Regions from separate parts of the Homo sapiens genome. Here all the other regions are linked to region 1. The links are contacts of gene promoters, found by promoter capture Hi-C in blood cells and fetal thymus (Javierre and others, 2016). All regions are on one chromosome and are shown on one strand. The core of a region is centred on a gene start or on the middle of the fragment in contact, and the rest is flanking DNA. Distances in the headings are between cores, read along the strand shown.

What was found. The method cuts DNA at HindIII sites, captures the fragments that hold promoters and counts their contacts. A CHiCAGO score of 5 or more calls a contact.
Region 2: a contact is called between a fragment that was not itself captured here and the fragment with the promoter of SV2C-AS2 in region 1, in 1 of 17 cell types (M2 macrophages). The highest score is 5.4, in M2 macrophages.
Region 3: a contact is called between a fragment that was not itself captured here and the fragment with the promoter of SV2C-AS2 in region 1, in 1 of 17 cell types (total CD8 T cells). The highest score is 5.3, in total CD8 T cells.
Region 4: a contact is called between a fragment that was not itself captured here and the fragment with the promoter of SV2C-AS2 in region 1, in 6 of 17 cell types (total CD8 T cells, naive CD4 T cells, activated CD4 T cells and 3 more). The highest score is 7.2, in total CD8 T cells.

Annotation. Positions count from the first base shown.
Region 1 is chr5:76,308,731-76,313,596 of GRCh38, reverse strand. It overlaps SV2C-AS2 (SV2C antisense RNA 2), which reads left to right and starts at 1,968. Exons shown (of 4, transcript XR_001742750.2): 1 at 1,968-2,413. All of the region lies in intron 12 of SV2C (synaptic vesicle glycoprotein 2C), which reads right to left. The HindIII fragment of the contact is 6,036 bases long and covers 1-3,143 here.
Region 2 is chr5:76,774,256-76,779,121 of GRCh38, reverse strand. No RefSeq gene overlaps it. Among named protein-coding and RNA genes, the nearest start is that of F2RL1, 42 kb to the left of the region's middle. The HindIII fragment of the contact is 261 bases long and covers 2,453-2,713 here.
Region 3 is chr5:76,623,801-76,628,666 of GRCh38, reverse strand. IQGAP2 (IQ motif containing GTPase activating protein 2) reads right to left here. Exons shown (of 36, transcript NM_006633.5): 14 at 1,167-1,257. Among named protein-coding and RNA genes, the nearest start is that of F2RL2, 2.8 kb to the right of the region's middle. The HindIII fragment of the contact is 1,818 bases long and covers 1,619-3,436 here.
Region 4 is chr5:76,597,256-76,602,121 of GRCh38, reverse strand. IQGAP2 (IQ motif containing GTPase activating protein 2) reads right to left here. Exons shown (of 36, transcript NM_006633.5): 10 at 4,520-4,683; 11 at 1,150-1,310. Among named protein-coding and RNA genes, the nearest start is that of F2RL2, 24 kb to the left of the region's middle. The HindIII fragment of the contact is 3,778 bases long and covers 107-3,884 here.

The sequences.
Region 1 (4,866 bases), core at 719-3,218:
GGCTTGCTCAGTACCCAAGGACAGCGAGATGGACTTCCTTGGAGCTCAAAAACAAACTTTGTGACTGTTTTTGTGCTAGTACACTTGGCAGGATTTGCTTCCATTGTAATATATTGCCTGATGGCAAGGTTGTGGGAGCAGGAAGCATATATTCCCCACCCCCTTCACCCTCTACTTCTAACTACCAGAGACAAAATGAATCTGACTTTTGCTGGATAGCCAAAGCATAAACATATATAATATAATGATAAGGCGTATAAGGAAAAATCAAGCAGAGCAGAGGGCCAGGGATGGAGTGGATTACATAGGTTGGTTAGTCGCGATAGCTGAAAGATTCCTCTGTACCAAAATCTTCACAAATAAGTGAGATATTTATCTTTATATTAGACGTAGAATGTATTCAAGAAAGAATGAATGAAATTGCCATTACAGAATACCAGATGACGACAGTGAAGAGAATTCTAGAGCTAGAAAGGCCCTGAGATGCTATTTATTTCATACTCCTCATTTAAATCTCAAACAATCCAGGCCCAGCTAGGCTGAGTGGTGTCCCTGAGGTCGCACAGCTGGTCAGTAAGAGATCCAAGATGACAGACCTTCGGAACTGAAGAATGGGGAGGAAACAAGAGAACTCTGTCAAAACAAGGACAGTCCTAAGGGAAGGGCTTGGGTTGCTTAATTCTGGGAAAATGTTTTGATTTTAGCTCATCAAGGAAGAGACCAATCCCACTGCACTGGGTGATGGCAGCAGCTGCCCAGGACTCTCAGGGATCGGCAGGTGTGAACAATCAGATCCTCAAATCCTTTCTGACCTCATGTCTGAAACTGTGCATGCATAAGGGGGCATAAGGGGGAAAGAAAAGGGAAGAAGGTAGGCAGAGAAAGGCAGGAACATGCGGCCAAACGACACCATGAGACAGGCTTGCCTGGCCCTGGGAGTCTGTGCAGAGTTGCAGGACGGCCCTGAGAGCGTGGGCTGCATCTCACAAGGTGTGCGCTCCTGGCCCCGAGCGCCACGGAGGAGGGGTAAAGATGGCCCCTAATGGCTGGGCACGCTGGCTCATGTCTGTAATCCCAGCACGTTGGGAGGCCGAGGCAGGCAGATCACTTGAGGTCAGGAGTTCGAGACCAGCCTGGCCAACACGGTGAAACCCCGTCTCTATTAAAAATACAAAAATTAGCTGGGAGTGGTGGAAGGCACCTATAATCCCAGTTACTCAGGAGGCCGAGGCAGGAGAATTGCTTGAATCTGGGAAGCAGAGATTGCAGTGAGTGGAGATTGCGTCACTGCACTCCAGCCTGGGTGACAGAGTGAGACCCTGTCCCCCCCCCCAAAAAAAAAAAGTGGCCCCTGAGCCATAAGCACACAGGAAATGTGAGCAGGGGACTTGGCCACAGCCACATAGTGGCAGCAGAAAGTTAACACCTGGACGCAGAGAAACATAAAGGCCAAAACCTAGAACTGGAATGAGCTGGAACAGGCCTACACCGCGGGAGCTACATTTATGACTTTTGAGAGATTTACAACTTTCACAAAGCAGGGAGAGAAAAGTAGGGACCCTGATGGATGGAAAAAATCCATTTCAACCTGTCATTACATATACTTTCATTTTGAAGACTTCAAGAGATGAGGGAAAATTGACTTATTTTTCCCAGTTAGGGTATTGAGGGAAGCTGACCAGCACAGACTAAACCCAAAAAATGAAATGCATCTTCTGTTGGTGTTCTCAGTTCTACCGCAAAGAGGGTTGAAAGTAATTTTGCTGGTGGCAGGGACTGGGGACGGAGAAATGAGGGAAAAGGAAGCTCCCCCACACCAGTATGTTAGATGGTTGGGGCTCCTTTCAGATTTACGGCAAGCTGGAAAATCCATTCTATGTCTGGCTCATGTCACATTCATATTTCATGTCTATTAGAAGAATCTCATGCCACATCAATTGTTTGTGATCTACATTACATATAATAGGCTCTCTGCTTATCTTTGACACAGGTGAGGGGCTGATGTAGAAACTGTTAAAAGACTATACAATGACTTGTATATTCAATAATGGCTCAAACTTCAAAGGTCTATCATTTTGCCCTGCTCTTCATTTCTTTCCTCATAATGCTTCTCAAAGCAATCTTGTCTTTCCAGCCTCACAATCAAGGACAAATTCCTGAATGCAACATTTGCTTTTCCGTCTTCCCGCTTCACCTCACTCATCCCTGCAGAAGTACAAGTATTCCTGGCTTCTTCAAGTCTACGCCTAAGAATTAAGAGCCTTGGGGAGAAGGGCACTGCATCGACCACTGCATCTCAATCATTGTGGCAGACGTACCACAGCACTGGGAAGCTGGCCTTGGCAAGAATCTCAGGCTATTACTACAGAGTTGGGAAGAAGGTTTAGGATCAAGATAGAGGTGACTGACCAAGGTGAGTGCATGAGCAGAGAGGTGCCTTCAACTTCCACTGCAGACAGTTCTGATATCTTGCCTCTACCTGAGGTGAGTTCTAGCCCTGGGCAAGTCAGTCCAATGAATGTCATTGAGAACCAGCTGCAAACTACTACTGCCCTACTGACCTAAGCACAGAGGTTATAGGGAAGTCTAACTTGCAAAGCCTTCTCTCAATGTCATACACCATTTTTGAAGATCAAGACATCTTAATACTTTGACCACTTGCTTCCAGGCTAGTTTTTTTGTATTCCACTCTGCCAGCCTGAGTTTCTAGCTCACTGAACTCTTGTCTCCTGGCCTGGTATCCTAACTCTGGTGTCTGTTATTTCTTAGTCCAGATCTGTGTTACCTCTGGATTTTCTTACGTTGATGGATTTACCCCCAGACTCCAACTCTTGCCTCTCAGACATGTTATTTCTATGGAGGCCTTTGTTTTCTGTTTCCTTTGACTTGAACTATTCCAGGTCTCTCTCTTAGACATATTTTCAGAATCTAACCACTTTCTCACCACCTCCATTGGCACCATTACCTCTTGCCACATTTCTTGCTGTGGACTTCATAAGTCAGTTCATGTCACTCATCTGCCCCCAAACCCCACATTGGATTTCATTTTACTCAGCAAGAAGACCAAAGCCCTTTTATTGTCCACTCTGACCCCATGGCTTCTTACCCTCTACCTTGGTCATTCTGCTCCAGCCAGACAAGCTTTGCCTCTCTTCCAACTGGTCTCTCACACTCCCACCTCAGGACCTTTGCACCTGCTGTTGCCTCTGCTGTGAATACACTCTCTCCAGATGTCTGCCTGGGTCTTTGCTCAAATGTCAGCTTTACAGTCACATCCCCCTAGACCATTCTATTTACAGTTGTAACTCTCCTTACCCCAGCATTCTCTATGCTCCACGTAGCTTTATTTTTCTCTACAGCACTTAGCACCATCCAATATACTACATCTACTTTACTTATCTGTTTGTTGGACTGTCTTCCTCAAACTATTATAGAATATAAGCTCTATCAAGGCAAAGCTTTCTGTCTGTTTTGTTCACTGCTGTCTCCCAATGACTAAAATAGTTCCTGGCACAGGATATGCATTCCATAATCATTTTTTTTTTTTGAATGAAATAGTGAATGACCTCTCTATCCCCAGCTCAGGTATCTTTCTGGCATCCAAACAAAAATATTCAAATGCCAATCGGACAGCCCCAGGTTGATGTAAAAACTCAACATGTCCAAAATGGAACTTATTACCTTCTTGACCACAGCCCAGACCCACTGTCCCTCCTGTGTCCCAGCCTCAAAATGCCATTGTGCTCCTGCAGGTGGTTTTTAAAATTAAAAAACATAAACAAAACCTGCCATCTCCATTCACTCAACTGTACACGCAGAAACTGGAATCATCTTTCTTTGACAACCTCTTTTCTTCCCCCTAACATCTAATCAAGCACCAAGCTTTGTTGAATGTATCCCTAAATATCTGTGAACATGTTGAGTGTTGACTTTTCCCCTTTCCAACCTACATTTTTCTTTCTTTCTTTCTGTTTTTTTTTTTTTTTTTTTTTTTTTTGAGATGGAGTTTCGCTCTGTCGCCCAGGCTGGAGCACAGTGGTGCGATCTCGGCTCACTGCAAGCTCCGCCTCCCGGGTTCACGCCATTCTCCTGCCTCAGCCTCCCGAGTGGCTGGGACTACAGGCGCCAGCCACGATGCCTGGCTAATTTTTTGTATTTTTAGTAGAGACGGGGTTTCACCTTGTTAGCCAGGATGGTCTCGATCTCCTGACCTCGTAATCCGCCTGCCTTGGCCTCCCAAAGTGCTGGGATTACAGACGTGAGCCACCGTGCCCGGCCTCCAACCTACAACTTAAGTGTCTTAACCAGCCTCCCTGCCTTCTTTCTGGCCATTAGAGGGAGCTCTCTAAAGGCCAAGAATGATCTTGTCATTCTCTGTAAGACAGCTCAAAGTCTCCCCGTCCCCACACAATAAGGCAATGTGAAAGAGTCTTCATGACTTGTTCTTTGAGTAACTCTTTTACTTCCAGAGCTTGTTAGCTGGTATTTGCTCTAACTGAAATGTTCTTTCCATCTTTTTGACTGGTTATCACCTACTAGATCTCAATTAAATGGAACTTCTTTCAAGAAAACCTCTCTGATGCTCTGAGCATCATGCACTTCCCATGTAATAACCCTGACCACTATATTACAACTGAAGTTTGCTTGTGCTTATGAGAATAAAGACCACAACTGATTTACTCACGGTTGTATCATAGGTGCTCAAAAAAATAGTTGTTGAGTAAATAAACAAACAGTATTAAAATTCACACCGAGATGGAATAGATATACTTTTCTTATTCTTCTTGATAAGTACAACAAAATATCCTGCACATTATATATAAAACAAACAGAACAAGACTGAAAGAGGAAAAAGGCAGAACTGCT
Region 2 (4,866 bases), core at 1,334-3,833, 460 kb before region 1:
TATGATGCTGATTGCCTTATTTTCTGACTTCCTCCATTTAGAGTAGTTTTTCTCTGGCTAAAATGTTACTACCCTCTTCTATGACTTCCTCATTTTTGTTTTTGTTTTGCTTTCTATTTTGTCTATGGGTGTACAATCAATGATATTTATATGGCCTGGATAACAGAGGTGGGAACTCATGTGCTGATATCCCTTAGAAACTAGGAGTTTTCAATAGTTAAACAATTCAAGAGTAATTACTTACTTTTTTTTTTTTAGATGAATTTTGCTCTTGCTGCGCAGACTGGAGTTCAATGGTGCGATATTGGTTCACTGCAACCTCCACCTCCTGGGTTCAAGTGATTCTCCTGCCTCAGCCTCCCAAGTAGCTGGGATTACAGGAATGCGCCACCAGGCCTGACTAATTTTGTATTTTAGTAGAGACAGGGTTTCATTATGTTGGTCAGGCCGGTCTCGGACTCCTGACCTCAAGTGATCCTCCCGCCTCAGCCTCCCAAAGTACTGGGATTACAGGCGTGAGCCACCACGCCCAGCCTGAGTAATTACTTTTTAATGATATGTAGTTATGAATGTGCATATATGCTCACAATATATTAAGTGCAAATTACAGAACTGCATTGTATGCTCTATTTCTGATATATATATATATATATATATATATATATTTTTTTTTTTTTTTTGAAATTAATTTATTATTTTTTTCAGACAGAGTCTTGCTCTGTCGCCCAGGCTGGAGTGGAATGGTGCAATCTCAGCTCACTGCAACCTCCACCTCCCGGACTCAAGCAATCCTCCCACCTCAGCCTCCTGAGTGGCTGGGATTACAGATGCCTGCCACCATGACTGACTAATTTTTGTATTTTTAGTAGAGATGGAGTTTCACCACGTTGGCCAGGCTGGTCTCAAACTCCTGACCTCAAGTGATCCATCTGCCTTGGCCTCCCAAAGTGCTGGGATTACAGGCGTGAGCCACTGGGCCCAGCCGAAAGTAAGTTTTAACTGAACTTGGAAGTATCTGATCTTTATCTGAAAGGACTGTTAACCATGGCACCAAGGACAACCTTACTGATTCTTTTTGCAATTCGAGTTCTAATAAATTTAAAACATAATTTCTCTGTACACTGTGTAATATTCATTTTTGTTCTCTTCAGTTTGCCTGACACAATTTGGGCCCAATACACTTTTGGTAAATGAGTAATATGAATAAATGGAATGGAGATCTCACAGTGTGAGAATCTCAGCCAACTACAGTAATGGGAAGGGGGCTGGTTTACAAGGTTGATAAAGAGATGCATTTTTATTTGTCAGCATCCAGAGGTCCATATGGACAGGGTTTGCCTTCTACCTGCTGCTAGGAATACTAGCCTAGTCTCTGTGATTTTAAAAATAACCCAAGAGGCGGCCGGGTGTCGTGACTCACGCCTGTAATCTCAGCACTTTGGGAGGCCAAGGTGGATGGATCACAAGGTCAGGAGATCGAGATGATCCTGGCTAAGACAGTGAAACCCTGTCTCTACTAAAAATACAAAAAATTAGCTGGGTCTGCTGGCGTGCACCTGTAATCCCAGCTATTTGGGAGGTTGAGGCAGGAGAATCGCTTGAACCTGGGAGGCAGAGGTTGCAGTAAGCTAAGATTGTCCCACTGCACTCCAGCCTGGGCAACAGAGCGAGACTCTGTCTCAAAAATAAATAAGTAAATAAAAATAAAAAACGCAAGAGGCTATGTTTTAGGTACATAAAGATATTAGAATTTTCATATTTTTTCAGACCTGTGCTCTATCCTACACAGCATTCAAATCCAGCAGGATTTATATGCCTGATTCTAAAAGTCGATCTCAAAGCTTACGAATCAACCCCCATCCTAGTTAACCCATTATGGCTTTATCATCCCTGAACTTATCTAACATCCTACTCCTTTTTTTTTTTTTTTTTTTTTTGAAACAGTGTTTCACTGTCATACCCCAGGCTGGAGTGCAATGGCACAATATCGGCTCACTGCAACCTCCACATCCCGGGTTCAAGCAATTCTCCTGCCTCAGCCTCCCGAGTAGCTGGGATTACAGGCACGCGCCTCCACGCCCGGCTAATTTTTGTATTTTTAGTAGAGATGGGGTTTCACCATGATGGCAGGGCTGGTCTTGAACTCCTGACCTCAAGTGATCCGCCCACCTCGGCCTCCCAACGTGCTAGGATTATAGGCATGAGCCACTGCGCCTGGCCCTAATATCCTACTCTTATATTTATGTTTGTTCTAGAAACAATTTTGGGTGAAATTTTATGTTTACTAAAGATAGACAAAAATCACCCATAACCCGGCTACCCCATCTCAGGGGGTGTATAGCCATCACTGACCTTTGAATTTGTCGTGAAAGCCTGGAAAGATGTCAATGGTACCTAAAAGACATACGATGGAAGATTTTTTTTTTAACTTAGAAAGGCTCAACTTAAAGCTTATATTGGAAAAAGTAAATTATTCTTAATTCAGAGCACAAACCAGTCAAATCTGCCAATCATCAACAGATGGCATCTTTCACACATTGTACATGCCACAGTCTAAAACAAAATTTGCAAATTGACTATAAGAGTAAAAATTTGAGCCCACACACTGCTTTTTATTTTTTCACTCATTGTATATAAGATGAGTTTTAAGTATATTCTGGTTACTAGTTTAGGTCCAGTGGATACAGCAATGAACACAACCACTATCAAAGCTTTTATGTAAACTGATGTTTTGGGCAACACAGACAATAAAAAAGATAAGTGAAATTTTAGTGCATTAAATTGTATTAAGAGCGAAGAAGAGAAAACAACGCAGGTAAGTGGTAGATTAAATTTTAGCCTGTGGCCAGGAAGTGTCACTAAGATATCTTTGTGGCCGGACAAGGTGGCTCACACCTGTAATCCCAACATGTGGGGAGGTTGAGGCGGGAGGATCTCCTGTCCAGGATTTTGAAACCAGCCTGAGCAACATGGGCAGATTCCACCTGTACAAAAAATAAAAACATTAGCCAGGCATGGTGGCCGGTGCCTGCAGTCCCAGCTACTTCGGAGGCTGAGGTGGGAAGATCTGCTTGAGCCTAGGAGTTCAAGGCTGCAGTGAGCTGTGATCCTGCCACTGCCCTCCAGCCTGGGTGACAGAGTAAGACTCTGTCTCACAAAAAAAGAAGGAAAAAAAAAAAAGAAGTCTCTTGAAGAGAGGTAGGAAGGCAGTGAGGGAGCCAGCAATGCAGACTCTAATGAGAAGGGCATCTTGGGCCCAGGGAAGTGGGTGTGAAGAGGCCAGAGTATGCAGATGATTGAAAAGGTCAGTGTGGCTGGTGCTGGGAGAAGGAGGGATTGGAGGAGGAGATGAGGACAGAGAAGAGGGGTGGTGAAGATTAAACGTGGCCTTGTAGGTCATCGTAGGGCTTTGGCTTTCGCTCTGAATGAGAGTTAAAGCCATTTGACAGTTGGTTGCAGATATTATGACATTTTATCCCTAAAAACTTCAGCATGCATCTCTTAAAATAAGGACACTCTATGTAGATATTCATTAGTAGAAGTTTGCTTTTTAAAAATTATTATCATTGGCCGAGAGCTGTGGCTCATGCCTGTAATCCCAGCACTTTCGGAGGCCGAGGCGATTGGATCACTTGAGGTAAGGAGTTTGAGACCAGCCTGGCCAACATGGCGAAACCCTGTCTCTACTAAAAATACAAAAATTAGCCAGGTGTGGTGGTGTGGGCCTGTAATCCCAGCTACTTGGGAGGCTGAGACAAAATTGCTTGAACCCAGGAGGTGGAGGTTGCAGTGAGCTGAGATCGTGCCACTGCACTCCAGCCTGGGCAACAGGGCAAGACTCCATCTCAAAAAAACAAAACAAAACAAAATTATCATTATTTATTTAGAGATAGAGTCTCACTCTGATCCAGGCTGATATACAGTGGTACAATCATCACTCACTGCAGCCTCGGCCTCTAGGCTCTAGTAATCCTCCCACCTCAGCCTCCTACGTAGCTGGGACCAGACACCTGCCACCACACCTGGTTAATTTTTTTTTTAACTTTTTGTAGAGACGGTGCCTCACTGTGTTGTCTGTCTCGAACTTCTGCACTTAAGTGACCCTCCTGCCTCAGCTCCCATACAGGTGTCGGTCCCAGGCTTGAAAATTACTTAATATTCCCAAATCATCTAATATCCATCTTACGTTCAAATTTCCCAAATTGTTATGTAAATAATTTTGGAAATCATATCTATTGATTAAAGAACGTAAATAAATACACGTGCCTGACACTGCCTTCATGCAGTCTTTCCAAGTGCAGATTTCTTTTTTAACTTCACCCTGGAACGTAGCTCAGGAAGGTGATGCAGTTTGCCTAGTGGACAGTAGGGGGCGCCACAAGCCCGTTATGCTATTTGCCAGCATTGGTGACTTCCGTAGTGGAGGAGTGGGTGCCCAGGGTTCTGGGTAATTTTCACAGTGTCACACAAGACCTGTGATTTCAGGGTGCGCTCAGAACCCCACAATGTCACCATTTCTGTAAAGGAGGTCATAAAGACTTCAAAGCAGAATTGAATTTTATTCTGTTAAAAGCCAGCTCAAGCCATGCAGTACTTTTTGGGGTGATTTTCAAAACTGTGCTGTGAAATCAAATTAACAAAAAGCTATAATTCACTGAACTAACCACTTAAAGGAAATGACCGTAATCATTTCTCAAAAGCAAACTGAGAAATGCTTGGGAAATTTGTTTTCTTTAAAATTTTACTTTTTACTTTTTTTTTTTTTTTTTTTTTTTTTTTTTTTGAGACGGAGTCTCGCTCTGTCGCCCAGGCTGGAGTGCAGTGGCGCGATCTCAGCTAACTGCAAGCTCCGCCTCCCGGGTTCAC
Region 3 (4,866 bases), core at 1,278-3,777, 310 kb before region 1:
TCATCTTAAGAACCTTCTCTGACCTGATACAACAGAATAGATTCTAATTATGCCATCAGTTGGCAGGTTAGTGAAATATATTTTTAGGAATCTTAATTTATATATGGAGAATGTTAGTATAGCAATTTAGAAGCTATTTCAGACTATCATGTGAATTTTCATGTTATTCTTCCTTAAAAACAGAGGGTTAAACAATTTTATCATTTGAACCAATGTGGGGATTCTGCCAGTTGCTGATTATGCCTATTCCGATTATGCACTCCAGAAGTGGGGAAGTAACCACAGAAAGAGTTTAGGGACCCACTGTGAGATGGATCTGAGCTAATATTCTATTCATCACCTGACCTCCACAAACCCCTACATTGACTGGTGGACCACAGTTATGTTTTGGGCCTCTTGGAATTAGTGTCAGTTCAGAGCAAGTGTCCACTAATTCCCAAAAGTCTGATTATGTACTTTCTCCTAAGTACAGTCACCCTGGTAAAAGGCCATAGGTCCCTTTGGGGGAGGGGTGGAAGAAAGACTAACAGTATAAATTTTTGGTAGTGTAGCTGAGTTTTTCCTCAAGGGGCCTGGCCTTCCCTTCATTTGAGGGGTTCTGGGTTTGTAAACTGGCCCCATTCTGGGAACTGATTGAGGGTCCATGACTATTTTTATGATTCAAGGTAGACTTCTGTTTGCTTGACCCAAAACTCATCCAGTTGTACAGATTAAGTAAGAATTGAGTAGACTGCCAGTCTATTTCACTTCTAGTTGCACCATGATCAGCTAGCCAACTCCATAGGTCTCCTATTGGTTCTGTTTCTGTGGAAAACCCTGGTAACTATAAAGGCCATGGAAAGGAGAAAAAGGCATTTATTAAGTAGAAATGGTCTAGTTCTCTAAAAATCAAGAGAAAAAAAGAATTTTATTCAATTATACAATTTGAGAGCTTAAAAACTATTTTTTACCTTCTGGATTTTGTTCAGCAACATTGTTACATTTTGTTGGAGATAGAGTCAAATCACTGACAATAGGGCAACCAACTAATTTCGGTATAATTATGTGTCCAAGAACTAAAACTTGGTAAGAATCCAAATCTTTCAGAAATTAAAAATCACATGACTTCAGGCACATAACCAAATCCAAAAAGGCAAGTTTCAAGAGCAAAGGAGGTGAGGGCTTACATTGTTTTGCTCTGTCCTTGTCCACGTTGGCATCATCGACGGCTTGCTGTATCTCATCCAGCCAAAGCACTTTGGAAACACTCTCAGAGTCCTGGGGACAATGTCACAGAATAAAAAGAAAGAAGAGTGAATGATGAGGAAACAGAATTAATAACTGCTTTTGAGGAGCCATTTAATCATAATTCCCACAAATTCTTAATCAGCAACTATCCAGCTCTGCCATATACTGTACACACTCCTAATGAAGCAGACCCCAAACCCGACCACTTCCTCCTTCTTCCCCACCACTCTTTAGTCCAGCCCCCCATCATCTCCCAACTGGACAGCTGCATCAGCCCCCTAGCAGCTTCTGCTGCATCTAAGCTTGCCCTCACCACAGTGGCCCTCTACAGAGGGCCCAGAGGATCCCTTCAAAATAGATAGCTCAGTGCACCACTCCTCTACTTAAAGCTTCCCCAAAGGCTTCCCCCGGCAGTTAGAAGGAAACACAGGGTGCCTTCTCAGGGATGGCGGGGCTCCAACGGCATGGCCCTGCCTACTGCCTCTCTGGCTGCACCTCACACCCGTTTACTTCCCCCTTCCTGTTCTAGACCTTCACACGAGTCTCTTTCAGACCACAATACTCTACCCTCACTGTGTGGCTGTTGGCTTTTTCTTACCATTCAGGTCTCAACTCAAATGCTACCTACTCCAAAAAGTCTTCCCGGGCTACCCTAGTCAAACACTCTCTCCCTCAATCAATTATTGTGGTTCCCAAACTAAGTGTCAAGGTGTCCCAGGGTACCATGGGATATTTTTAATTTGAGAGAAACACAGGGATCGTCGATATTTATCAGACACAGAGACAAAAATTAAAAACAAACAACAACATGGTGATTGTCCTCAAGGACCTAACAATGTAGTGTAAGAGACAGATGTGTCAAGACATATAGCTGGGCATGGTGGCTTACACCTGTAATCCCAGCACTTTGAGAGGCTGAGGGTGGTGGACCACTTGAGGTCAGGAGTTCGAGACCAGCCTGGCCAACATGGTGAAACCTCATCTCTACTAAAAATACAAAAATTAGCCAGGAGTGGTGGTGCATGCCTGTAGTCCCAGCTACTTGGGAGGAAGGCGGGAGGATTGCTTGAACCTGGTGGGTGGAGGTTGCAGTAAGCCAAGGTCAGGCCACTGAACTCCAGCCTTGGGACAGAGTGAGACTCTGTCTCACAAAAAAAAAAAAAAAAAAAGAAAAGAAGAAAAAAAAGAAAAAGAATTATAATACAATGTGATCAGGGCAATATATACTGCAGACACATGATCCAGACATAGGTGAGAAAGGGTTAACCTATGGTAAAGGTGTCAAGTTGCAGGGGGAGCAAAGACTAAGTAGTTAAAGATAGCTTTAGAAAGGAAGCAACAGCAGCAATGAAAATGTATTGCATTATTCCTATTATAGGTAAATATTCCTATTTAACTTTGGGTTGATTCTGATGGTCCTGCTACAAAAGCAGCCCTGACAGATATTAAGTGGAACTTCCAGGTAGCAATTGTGTTTTATAAAATCTTTTCTGAGATGGCAAGTAAATAATTATCAGCAGAGATATTTTCAGGAAACATGTGACATTTAACAAATGGGAACATTTTACCTATGTGTAGGAATAAGTGTCGTGTTCTAAATCCTAAGTCAAGACTGTGATGAATGAAAGGTAATGGATCTGGCACCGACTCCGTCATTTAAAACTTAAGATGGATGGGGGCAGGAAGGAGAGGAAATAGTCACTGGTTCCTCTGGCAGGCTTCTAACACTATTTTCCTCAGAGGTTAACGTGAGATAATGCATGTGGAAAGGGCTCTGAAAATGAGATAAACTATCTGTTATTTCATCGTGCAACATCTGGGCTAAAGGAGACCTCTGGGGAAGTGTTGGTGCCTGCTTCCACAATCACCTCTAGCTATGCGGCAGACTACAAGGGAAGCATCAGCAAGATTTTCCATTTCTTTCAAGAATGGATGGGGGAGGCTCAAACAGGAAGCCGGGTGGAAAGGGGAAGACTAGAGGAGGAAAAAAAGAGACAGGGAAGCAGGAGCTAATTTTTCTCTGTTTACAAGATCTAAGAGAACCCAACACTCCCCAGCTATAACCTAAAAACTAAGCTCTATGAGTTCATTTATGTGTCTCAGTTCTTTTGAAGGGTATTTGCCTTCCTTCATAACTTATCACTGTAGAAGATACACCACACAGATTTCTACCCAGATGAGAAGGCAGTAACAATCTTACTTCAAAGCTTAAAGTATTAGTCTTATAGGCCAAACTGAAGAGAGAAATTACAAATCAGATGAATTTAAGTCAACGGTTTAAATTATGAAACATTGAACTAACGATTACTAGAGTTAAATGTAAAACCAAAAGTAAAAGCTGAATCTTATCAATGTAAAGTCTGCTTTTTCTTATTTATTTTATTTTTGAGATGGAGTGTTGCTCTGTCACCCAGGCTTGCTCACTGCAACCTCCGCCTCTCAGGGTCAAGCTATTCTCCTGCCTCAGCCTCCCAAGTAGCTGGGATAACAGGCGCCCGCCACCACGCTCAGCTAATTTTTGCATTTTTAGTAGAGATGGGGTTTCACCATGTTGGTCAGGCTGGTCTCAAACTCCTGACCTCAAGTGATCCCCCCACCTCAGCCTTACAAAGTGCTGGGATTACAGGCATGAGCCACTGTGCCCAGCCAAGTCTGCTTTTTCAGTTGTTCACCAGAAGACTGAAAATAATAGTATATTTATGGGACGGCCACACCTCCACTTCAGTTAAACAGCCAGGTTCAACATAAGAGTTACAAATGAATTAAATGACCAGAAACTAGGCCATGTGCAAATCAAGTCATAAATTCCTGAATTTAGATAACTCCCAGAAAAGTTCTAATGAAACAAAAAAAACCTTTGTCAATATTTTAGGTTTTATATTTCTGCAATATAATAACATTCTATCTCAGTTTGTATAACCATATATTATGTAGTTGAAGTATTAAACACTGACCTTTGTAAAAATCTTGGTCTAATGTAATTTAATCAAGATGTGAAAGGTTTCCGCAGATCAATTTCTTCCTAGCATATCCCTAGCCTTTAAGTCTCATGTGAAATTTGTATTTTCTGATTCTTGCTGCATTTTGTAAAGAGCAGGCTGTGGGATGGTCAGGCTTCAAGTTTAAGTTTTATTAACTACAGAAAAATGTGTTATAATGCATTTTTTTACTGTATATTAAGTCATACTCTACAGAATATAACAATTCATAAAAGCTTATATGTTGTACAACAATGTGAATGTATTTAACATTACTGAACTGTACACTTAATACTGGTTAAGATAGTAAATTTTATGTTACGTATATTTTACCACTATTAAAAATATCTTATTGTAGACTTATTCACCAACACTCATGGAATAAAGGGAGTCCTCATTTTCATGATGTGCTATGATTTTAGTTTAACTGAACAGCGTTGTTTGGGAGGTTCCTCCAGTTATCTGACCCTAAGGGTTATTGAATGGCTCAAAACACATCAAGATAAGGCAAAAAAAAAAAAAAAAGCCTGAACAAACGCCATCCTCACCCGGCGAAGAAAAACCACCACCACTCAAAAGCCAGGTTCTGGCCAGGCACTGACGACAAACTGAAATCAATATTACATTGATGGAAAATTTTCAAAGTGATTCACCGCTCAAT
Region 4 (4,866 bases), core at 746-3,245, 290 kb before region 1:
AGGTATAAGGCACATAGACTGGCTACTGACAGCAGGCTCTTTAGAGCACGAGGGTGCCCGGCTGAGGGCAGAGGGAAACTCAAATTGGGCTTCAGGTTTCTAAGCTTACAGGAGAGAATGGTGCCATTAACAAGTAACAGAAACAGTGGTGGTAGATATAAATTACCTTGGAAACACACTCTAAGGAGTCATATGAACCAGATGGCCAAATTTAAGTAGAACAAGAGAATTAGTTTCTCCAAAAAGACTAAAAACAAGGAAAACCCACCATCCTTCCATTACCTTTTGGCCATTCACTACATAGACAAGTGGTCAAATACCATTTGTTTAACCTAAGAAATCTCTGGTTTTTCCTTGGCAACTGTACATGACCCAAGAGAATTAGCCAACCTGCCTATTAGAGCCGTTCCAAAATCAGTAGCTGAAAAGAGCTTTTGTCAAGATCTGTGCAGACATCTCCCCCTGGTGGTTACAAGAATCCAAGATTCACTCATTTTAACTGGGGCTTTTATCTCAGCGACTCTCTCATCTGGCTCCCAATTCTGGCCATTTGATTTTCTCTCAAGATCCGCTATAGTGTTTTATAACAATGCTATCAGTTGTACTATCTGGTAGCACACTTCAGAAACATGAAATGAAAGATAAATGGATGTTGTTACCCACTGCCATGACCCACTGTGGTCTCAGGATTTCTTTGGCTTAATAATCAGAAGAGTGGAGTTTGGGGCCCAACTGCCCAATTTTAGGTCCATAACCCGGATTCTGTTTCTGCATCAGTGACATAAAAGAATTGGACTGGATGATTATTAAAGTTGCTTCCAACTCTTCTACATTCTGCGGTTTCCAAAAGACGCCCAAGGAAAGGTATGTTTCCAATAGTTCCTTTATTTTCAGCCTATCAAATAATCTTTGCCAACGACAAAGTCATTTATTAATTGCCACAGGATGATCACTTTCTGATTCTTCTTGTTCCCCAGAAGGAATACTGTAAACAAGGATACTAATTAGAAGGACTCTTAAAACAGACTAGTTTTCAAGAAACATGAGCATGGTATATGGATTTCTCCACCAACAGGCAAATTCCTCACTTTTAAGATCTGCCAAACATGCATTTCTGCATTGAAAGAAGGTTTGGAAAATGTTCCTTACCGTTCCACATATGCCTTGTCCAGATTGTTTAAGCCTATTGCGGGGCTTCTGAGTTGATTCTGCACAGACACAAGATCGTTGCTTTCCAAGGCCTGGTTTAGTAAAGCAACAGCAGACAACATTTCCACAGCAATCAAAAGCTCCTCGTGGGCCAAGTAGTTCTGTTGGAAAACATATGGCAACATAAGCTCCCCACACAACACACCTCATGTGCATGATGGAGGTTTACAATGCACATTTCAACAAACAACAAAAAGTCAAAGAACTTGATAGCTCAGCAGAAAGAGGAGTCGTGGCCACCTGCTTTCCACTGGCTTTAAGAACAGGTATATGGCTCCTGGGCTTTCATTAGATGATCATTTTTTGGGACTGGGTTGATTACAATGAAAAGTTACGATTCCACAAATATCTGCATTCCCATTGCTGATCCCTACTCCTAGCTATACTGGTTGCTTAAAGGCTCAGTCCAGCCATATAATTAAGCCAAGGACTAGATAACATTGTCACTGACTGAGAGTGCCAGGTAACATTTTAGCACAGCTAACGATTTCCAGTTTGAATTAAGGGTTAAGGGAAGGTTGGGAGAATTTCACTGAAAAGTTATAATCTGAAGCACAAAGCAAGGTCTTCAAACCAAGACTACTGATTTAATTCAAAAAAAGTTAAAGTGACATTTTCATAAATTTTAAAATAGAAATTTTAAAATACACTACCAGGTCAAGATATTTGAAGAAATCTGAGGTGATCTTTTGGTAAAGCAAGTAAAGCTCTCCAGGTTTTTTTGTTTGGTTTGGTTTGCTTTATTTTTATTATTATTATTTTTTGAGATGGAGTTTGGCTCTTGTTGCCCAGGCTGGGGTGCAATGGCACGATCTAGGCTCACTGCAGCCTCCGCCTCCCAGGTTCAAGCGATTCTTCTGCCTCAGCCTCCCAAAGTGCTGGGATTACAGGCATGAATCACCACACCTGGCCAGATCTCCAGGTTTATATGATTTAAAATCTGGATTTAGCTTATCCAAAAAAATACGTCTTAGATTTCAGAACACCCTTCCCCTTTAATATCTTCTTCCATTTAACCATTTTATATTATCTTGGCCCAACTTCAAAAGGAATATTTTTTTCATCATATTGAAGGGACATAAGGAGCAGGAGCATGAAAAAGAACCACTAAGGAAAAGCTGATACATATTTTACATTTAGGATATTACAGGTATTTAATATATAACATAATGTTCATCTTAAAATGCATTATTATATCTTTCTGGATCTCCACAGAAGTCTCGCAGCAAACTGATTTCAGAATAAAAAGGGATAGTTTAATCTTTCAAAGCAAATGGGAAGAAGGGGTTACCATCGAGAGCATGTAAGTAAATTTTATTTAAATATATTACATTAAATACAAGTTTAACATACAAAGTATCAAATTATAAGAGCAGAATGGAATCGTTTATAATTCACCTCCTCTATCTCTTTCAGTGACCTGTCCGTGGATACCTAAATTGGTTTACAGCAAAAAGGATAAGGAGAGAGGAAGAAGAAATGAGGTTGGACAGCCACAGGTTAACTATGGCCAGTTGAGGATGAATGAGTGTCCTCAAGCATAAGTAGCCTTGAGCTTCAGAGCCAGAGAAGTGGAAGAAAATATTAATGAGAGAACCTGAATGAAATTAAGAAAATAAGCTATTTTTCTTTTATTACAAATACTATATTTCTATTTAGGAAACATAGGGAGTCTTTTTAATTATTATTATTATTTTTGTAAAGATGAGGCCTATGTTGCCCAGGTTGGTCTTGAACTCCTGGCCTCAAGTGATCCTCCTGTCTCAGCCTCCCAAAGTGCTAAGATTACAGACAGGAACTACCACACTCAGCCAATACAGAAGTCTTAGTAAGCAAGAATAAGAAAACAAATGCTACCACTCAAGCTCTTTTGTGTATATCCTTTTATGTATTTTAAATTCATATATACATTTGCAGAGGTTTTGTCTTTATAACTGACTTCACTTTCTTTTTGCAAAAAACAAGATAATGCTATATATCTTAATCTTATTTTTCCCACTTAATATTAGTATGGATATCTTTTCCAGTCATTCTTTACATTATCATTTTTACTGGTTGCACATATTTCTCACATGTACAAGCACCATAAATGTTATTAATTTATAGGCAATCTGTTATTAATTAAACATTTGTTTCCTGGTTTTCAGTATTCTAAACAATGCTGTGAAACATCTCTGTGGCCAAAGCTATTTGGTTCATATCCTTCAGGCTTATTTTCTAGAACGTAACTGTCAGCATCATGGGCTTTTGATCTGTATTACTAAGACCACCCTGCAGAAAATCTGTATAATTCATACTCCCAGCAGCTGTGTAGGAGATGTTTGGGCCCCATATCTATCCCTACGCTGGGTTAAATCTTTCTAATCTTTACCAATCTAATTTTAAATCATAAGTGTACTGTGTTTTAATTTATATATTTTTTACTTCTGATTGAGTTTAAACTTTTTTTTTGTTTGTCATTTGTATAGTTCTTGTTTTATGAATTGCCTGCTCATGTTTTTGGCCTCTCTTTATTGTGTGTGGATAAGTGCTGATTGTGACTTTAAAGATCCAATGACTGTCCTGTGTTTTTCCTTAGAACTTTAATTTGTTAAATTATTTTTTATATTTAACATTTTATGTTGAAAATTTATTTTGATATATGTGTAGTGAGTTAATGTTTTCTTAACAAAGCTTAAACACTTGCAAGGATATCATTTATTAAATAGTTGTTTCCCCACCTTCTTGAAATACGAGCCTTGTTATATGCTGAATTCTTGGTTCTGCTTTCAGTAGTTTTCATTTTGTTTCATTGTTTGGCTTACAAGAGTGTTAGTAAACATGTTCTTAATTACTGTAACCTTGTATGAAATTATTGTTGAATGCTGTTGTCATATTAAGGTGCACAAGTTCACAAAAATCAAAGCCATGGTGCTAATGGTCTTATTTGCAGTTTCTAAAATTGCAGATTGAGCTTATTTTCTACATAAAAACATTATATATTGTAAAAAAAATACCACATCGGTATAGCTAAAATTTATCCAAGGTGTCTTCAAATATCACACAGAAAATAAGAACAACCTATTTTCACAGGTATATGTATAGACCACTGCTGGAATTTCCTAACTATGCTCTTAGATTCTTTATGTAGACTAAAAGCAAGAATTAACAAGGAAGAAGGCCTTGGAATTGGTACAGGTGGGCCAGTGAGACCAGGACTGGTACAAATTAGAGATCCCCGATCCCTATTCCCCTTTCCTAACTAGGCTTCCCTAGTGCGCCATGGCACGCAGGGTTACCGTCCCCACAGCTGGGGTCTCCTCTGACTTACCATGGTGTTCTGTTTCTGGAGGTTGAAAAGTTCGTTCTGATACATGGCAGCAGCAAAGGGATAAACAGCAGGCAGCTGGGCCTCTGGTTTCTTCAGTGCAAGCAGCGTATTCTCGGGGTCACCTTCCGGAATGACAGCATTGATATGGTCCACTGCAGCCTGCCCTGAGGATGGGGGTTCATGTTTTGTCAGAATGGTTGCTCTTTCCACTGCAGTCTCACCCAACCAGCCCTTCTTCCCAAGGATTTGAACCTAAGCAGTTACTTTTCATGAACTCTGAAAAGCTGCAGGCAGAGGGTAGGTAAGGCTTTGAAAATGTTATCTCAGTAATTCAAACTAATCCAATC